2 separate regions of the Homo sapiens genome follow, and region 1 is linked to region 2. The links are contacts of gene promoters, found by promoter capture Hi-C in blood cells and fetal thymus (Javierre and others, 2016). All regions are on one chromosome and are shown on one strand. Each heading gives the region's core, a stretch centred on a gene start or on the middle of the fragment in contact. The rest is flanking DNA. Distances are from core to core; before and after follow the strand shown.

Region 1 (3,051 bases), core at 56-2,555, 200 kb after region 2:
CTTCCCTGGGTGAACTCTGGAATCACCTCCTCTGGGAAGCCTTCACCGACTAAGCTTGCATTTGGTGAGCCTCACTATTGGTCACTTGCTTTGCAATTTCCTATCACGTACAGCTCTTATCACCTGGTATTGTGAGCATCTGTTTCCTCCAAGACATGCTTTCATTCACTCATTCAACTATTTGTTGAGCACCTATATGTGCCAGGAACTATCTGGGGTGGTGGGGAAACAGCAGTGAACTAACCAACGTCCCTGTTTTCATGAAGTCTATATTCTTGAGGCTCTTTGAGGGCAGGAACTGCCTGGCACCAAGGAAACACTCCATAAAAAAGATGATTAGTGTTGTCAGTATTACCTGGGACACGGCACCCAAAGCACTCTTAGCTGAGCGAGCTGCAGCCTGGAGGCCCTGCTGACCTGGCTCTGGGGTTTCCAGGCGTTTCCAGGAGGGCCCTGCGCGGAGGTTGAGGTTGACGGCTCTCAGGGGCAGCCTCCTTTGGAACTGTCTGCACAGGGACCCCAGGGCCCCTACAGAGGTCTCCTGATGGCTGACCACAGGCTGCAGCTCCTTGCTGTCCTCCAGCTGCTCCTGGTGCTGGAGAGATCTCCGGCGCACGGAGGTCCCCATGTTCTGCCACCGAGAAGCCATCTGCCTGGCCAAGAGTCTTCTCTGTCCACTAGACCCTGGGGAGGAGGGCGAAAGGCAGATCAGCAAGGCATTCCCCATACCCATTCCCAGGCCCCACAGAGACCCTGGACACAGGGGAAGAGACGGGATGCAGCGGGGTGGCGGGGGCGGGCGAGTTGGTAAGTGTGGGTGCAGGAAGGAGGATGCTTCCTGGAAGAGGGGCCTCGGGTCAGCAGCATTTCTGATGTCCCGCCCTTCAAGTTTCCAAAACAGCTGTCTTTTCATCCCAACCTCCTTCCTCTCTCTGGCTCAGGCGAGGAGGGGAGGCAGGGTCAAGACACGCCGTAGCCGAGCTTCAGCGCTGGGCCCAGGACACGATCACCATCTTCTTCACCAGCTCGCCCAGACCAAACGCGCACCCGCCCAGACCCCGGCCTTCCCACCAGACGCCCCGATTTCGATCCGACTTCTTGTGGTACCCAGACGACCCCACAGGCCGTGCGTGTCCGAACCTGATGCCCTCCCCTGTGAACAGAACCTGATGCCCTCCCCTCCGAACAAAAAAATTGTTTTGAGTCCAGATCGCGCCATTGCACTCCAGCCTGGGCAACAAGGGCGAAACTTGTGCCCAGCCCGCACTCACCCGACACCACTAAGGCCGAGCACAGCCGCAGCACAGCTGCTCCTCGCCCACCGCAGCCGATTTGAAACTCTGCGCGGCTCCGCCCCCGGCCCCGTCCTCACAGCTGATTGGTTCCGTCCCCGCCCCCGCCACCGCCACCGCCCCGGGGATCCGATTGGCTCCCTCTCTCGCGGCTGCAAATGCTGCGCTTGGATTGGCCCGGCCGTGCCCATTCATCGCTCCGGCCCCCGCCCCGCCGCCAGCCTCGTGGCTCCGGGCTTTGTATCCTGCGTCCCGCTCGCGCCACTGCCCTTGCTAGCCCAGCCCCCGCGCATCGCACACCGGGTCCCCTCCCTGGAGCGCGCACAGGGTTCAGGCTGCTCTGACCCATGGGGTGGAGGCGGAGGTCCTGGGACCTAGGCCTCCTGGCTCAGGCCCCAGGCCCCAGGCCCGGCAGCGGGCAGAGACCCCTCTCATCCTGCCAAGGGGTCTGGCTTTTCCTTCTTGCTCAGTGGTTTTGTCAGAAGGAGCCAGGGACTGGCAGTGCAGAGCCCTGGGTTCCCAGAGACGTTTTCTTTCAAATTTCCCTCCTGACCCTCCCTTCCTGTGACAAGACACTGTCCCTCTCTGAGTTCCCCATACTCGCCATCCACGCTCCGCCCTCCCTAGAAAACGCGTCCCGGAAGCGGGGATAGACCAGAGTACCGGTCTGCCCTCCACCCGTCTACACCGGCTCCCCGCCCCCGCCTTGCCCCACGCATCCCTCCCTCTCTCCAGCGGAATGCCTGCCTCTCTTCTCCTTAGCATCCAAACAAATGCAGCCATTATAAAGCTCTCTCCAGCTCATCTTTCTCCTTTCGGTGACCTCAGAGCAGTGCTGCCCACTCCCCCGGCTGGTTTCTTTGTTACTTCTCCGCACAAGAGCCTGAGATGATGGCTTCTTGAGACTCTGTCTTCAGCCCTCTCCGTTTCTGGGTGGTCTCACCCACTCCTTTGGCCTCAGTGATTTCCAAGGAAAGGATGATGATAATGATTAACGTGTATATGGCACTTAGTATGCACAGGTACCGGTGTTGCAGTTTATTAACTTACTTGATCCTCTGCTATGGTTTGAATGTGTCCCTCAAATTTCACATGTTGGAAATGTAATGCCCAAATTCATATATCGGTGGCATTTTTTGTTTGTTTTTGAGACGGAATTTCACTCTTGTTGCCCAGGCTGGAGTGCAATGGCATGATCTCGGCTCACTGCAACCTCCGCCTCCCAGGTTCAAGCGATTCTCCTGCCTCAGCCTCCCTAGTAGCTGGGATTACAGGTGCCTGCCACCACGCCTAGCTAATTTTTTGTATTTTTAGTAGAGATGGGGTTTCACTATGTTGGCCAGGCTGGTCTCGAACTCCTGACCTTAGGCAATCCACCCGCCTCAGCCTCCCAAACTGCTGGGATTACAGACGTGAGCCACCGTTCCTGGCTATCGGTGGCATTTTTTAAGACATATAAATTGTTATTTATTCAAATTATAGAATATTATACAGCACTGAAAAATAAGCAAATTGTAGCCAGATGGTGTAACTTAAGTCAATCTCAGAAATATGTTAGATTAAAAAAAAGCAATATGCAGACAAACATAAAGTATGACACTGTATAAATTCAAACGCAAAAAAGCTCAACAATATGGTTTAGGAATATGCACATACATTTGTGGACAAAGCTATTATGGAAAGCAAAGGAATTGAAACACCAAAATAAAATAAGTCGTCGTTTTTGGAAGGGTGGCAGGAGAAGAGGATGTAATGAGGA
Region 2 (3,097 bases), core at 144-2,643:
TACTAATTACCCTGTGCAAAGTTTCAAAGTGTGACTAAGATATAAAAGTAAAGCCAGCTAAGTTCTGGGCTTACACCAGACCAAATTCGTTGAATTACCCTTACTTAATTCAGGTGGGCATTTTAAATTTGTATTTAATAGCTTCTAATTGTTTAACTTGTCAGACATTACCTTGTAAGACAAACTGGGTAAGTAAGTCCCTGAGGCCCTTCCCGCCTAAGTATGCAATTTGTGCACGTCTGCGAGGTAGATTATACATTGCCACTTACTAAGGCTTTTCTCCTACTTGGCAGTAGATGAACACACATCCTTCACTAATGTGCTTCAGCCCCTCTCGTACGACTGGTTCAGCTTTAAAAAAAGTTGAGATAAAATAATCGCACGTCAACTCTACAATCAGGCACGTATAAACTGTGTTCTTTCCCCCTTCCCCCAGTCTTGGTAAGCACTCAGACTTTAACCTGCAGCTAACTGAAGAGGTCAACACAAGTCAGGTGTTCCCTTCTGGTCTTAGAGCCACGTTAAGGGTAAGGACCAAATCCCAGTCCCGATTTGCCCCTGCACCACCGCGCCCGTAACAATGGAAAGCACATGTATTTGCTGACCAACTCACGTATCCTGTAAGACACTAATGGTACTGGGGGAGTGAGAAGTTTTAAGGAACTAGATTCCAAGATCATCCGGGTAAGGTGGTAAAAGGAAGAGCGCTCTTGGCAGGGCGGGGTAGGATTTAATAGAAGGAGACTTGGGGACAGCTCAGATTGCTCCGCGGATGTCTGGAACCAAGACTCTGCCTCCGCTAAGCCCCCCTTCTGGCCGTAGGCTCGACCTTCCTGCCATTTCCATTGGACAGCAGCCCCCGAATCCCGGCCTCACCCTGCACGCAGTCGGGGCACCAGCTTTTCCCCCCGGCGTCCTTAGAACCCGTAAAGTAGGCGAAAATGGTCTTGCCATTGTGCTGTTCCACGGCCCGGTGGAACTCCTCGAAGCCGGACACGCTCACCTCCTCATAGCGGGCCATTGGCACGACGTGCAGCCGCTACTGGAGGAGTGCACGTCCGGTCGCCGCGGTTGGGTCCCGCGTAGGCGGGGCGAGGCTGTTTCCGGGTGGGCAAGAGAGGGCGGAGCCTGCGGAAGCCAGCGCCGCTAAAGACTACGGGAGCCTCTGACGACCACAATCCATCCGCATGGCTTTTTGCTCTAGTTCCTCAGATCTTTCTGCGCTAGCTGCACTCCCAAGCCCAGGCTTAGATCTACCCTAATCTAGTCCCAGCCCCGACCTCATGGACACTGGCTGCAAAACTTACCGCCTTGCAACACCTGGATCCTTAAATAGTTCAGGGCCTCAAAGGCTCCCAAGCCGCCCTGCGCCTGTTGCTATGGCGACTGGGCAGGCGGCCGGAAGCGCGGCCTTGTTGGGGGCCCCCGTTGCCCGCCTCCCAGTAGCCGCGCCTCACCCTAGGCCAGGTGGGCTCGGGCCGGGGCTGGGGGGGATTCTGGGAAGCCGCATAGAGTCATGGACTTGGGGGAGAGGAGATCTGACTCGGAAAGCCTTTGTTGCTTTGTCCCCCCAGTTACCTTTTCTGCCGTCTAGGCTTTACGGGGGCCTGGGACTGGGGGCGGGTTCCCGAGACTGGGCGGGGGTGGGATGGGTGAGGGGCTCGGAGGGAGAAAGGCTGCAAGGCCGGAGCGGAGTGTGTGAGTGCGTGTGTGGAGCAGCTTAGGGAGCGAGGTGCTAAGACATCCCCCAGGGCCGCGGTAGGGAGGAAGGGAACTGCCCTGGAGCTATGAGCCGGGAGACTCGCCGTGGGGCCTTGCCCAGGCTGCGCCGGGGAGAGCAGGCGGCTAAGATGCCGGGTCGCTGCGTGGGGCCCAGCAGGTCGGGGCGGGGGGTTCGGCGGCCGTGGGGGAAGAGACGGGGCGCAGGGACGTCCCGAGGCCGTGGAGCAAGGCGCCGGGCGAAGCCCTCGGAGTGGGAGACGCGCTGTGTGAGTGCAGAAAGGCCACAGGGCCGTCAGCGGCCATGGGGGACGAGACAAGCGGCGGAGACAGCCGACGCCGCCGGGGCGAATGAGGCTTTGGGAGCTCCTGGGACCCCAGGCTCCATCGAGGCTGCAAGGGACCCTGGGGCTGTGTGGGTGAACGGGGCTGTGGGGGAGCCCGAGGTGGTGGGGCTTGCCGGGGCTGTGTGGGTGACCGGGTCTGGGGAGGAGGAGACCGAAGATAGAAGTCCCCGGGGCTGCGAGAGAAAAGGTCGCCCGGGATCTCTGGGCCATGAGAGCATTCTGCACCTGTGGCTGAAGGTGCAGGCTATGAGGGCCGCCTCGGGATGTGGGGAAGGAAGTAGAGTCGAGCTCCATCCCGTGCCTGCAGGAGAGGGACCTGTCGAAAGGGGTGTTCCTGGCCGAGCTTCCTGGGTAGAGACAAGCCGCGGCGGTCTTACAGGGCCCTGGGTGAAGGAACAGGCAAGGGGGATCCCTCGGGCCCCCTCAGGGCCCACAGCTCTGGGCTTAGGGGCAGCTTACGAGAGAGCCTTAGGCTTCTGTGGACAGGGACAGGCTGGGAGGGTGCCTCCTGCGAGTGTGCCTGGGGCTTTGGCGTCAAGTTCTGAAATGGCCCCGCACCTGTGGAGGGGAGAAGCTGTGGGGGTTCCTGAGACTGGGGAGGAGATAGGCTATGGGTTTGTCTCAGGCCCTTGTGAAAAAGAACAGACTATGGGCGAGCCTGGGACCGTGGGGTGGACTGGGGCTGTGGGAGCGCCCAGAGCCATGGAGGGAGAGCTCGGCTGTGGCGGTGCTGCAGGTCTGTGGGGGAGAGGACAGTCCCCGCAGATTCCTGGGGCTCTGACACATGAAGCAGTCTGTGGGGCCACCCCTGGCGTATGGGGGAGGGGACAGGCTGTGGGGGTGTCCGATGCTGTGGAGGAGGAGCCTACTTCTGTGGGTGCCGCAGGTGTGTGTTACAGGAGACAGGCTGTGGAGGAGACAGACTCTGTGGGTATGCCCGGCCCGTGGGGCACAGGATACTCTGTTGGGGTGCCCTGTGCTGCTGAAGAGGAAACTAGATGTGGAGGTGACCCAGGGTTCAGGGAAAGGGG

Evidence for each region. The method cuts DNA at HindIII sites, captures the fragments that hold promoters and counts their contacts. A CHiCAGO score of 5 or more calls a contact.
Region 1: the fragment with the promoter of PIMREG here is called in contact with the fragment with the promoter of KIAA0753 in region 2 in 2 of 17 cell types (M0 macrophages and M1 macrophages); the score reaches 6.4 in M0 macrophages.

The regions. Positions count from the first base shown.
Region 1 is chr17:6,442,709-6,445,759 of GRCh38, reverse strand. PIMREG (PICALM interacting mitotic regulator) reads right to left here and starts at 1,305. Exons shown (of 6, transcript NM_019013.3): 1 at 1,272-1,305; 2 at 356-684. The coding sequence starts at 649. All of the region lies in intron 2 of LOC107985017 (a long non-coding RNA gene), which reads left to right. RefSeq lists silencers at 1,056-1,283, 1,366-1,615, 1,846-1,995 and an enhancer at 1,347-1,925. The HindIII fragment of the contact is 3,587 bases long and covers 57-3,051 here.
Region 2 is chr17:6,639,007-6,642,103 of GRCh38, reverse strand. It overlaps KIAA0753, which reads left to right and starts at 1,393. Exons shown (of 19, transcript NM_014804.3): 1 at 1,393-1,467. TXNDC17 (thioredoxin domain containing 17) reads right to left here and starts at 1,044. Exons shown (of 4, transcript NM_032731.4): 1 at 877-1,044; 2 at 270-351. The coding sequence starts at 1,021. LOC122526780 reads left to right here and starts at 1,788. Exons shown (of 1, transcript NM_001396008.1): 1 at 1,788-3,097. The coding sequence starts at 1,788. RefSeq lists enhancers at 325-384, 585-854, 985-1,866, 2,765-2,834. The HindIII fragment of the contact is 13,898 bases long and covers 1-3,097 here.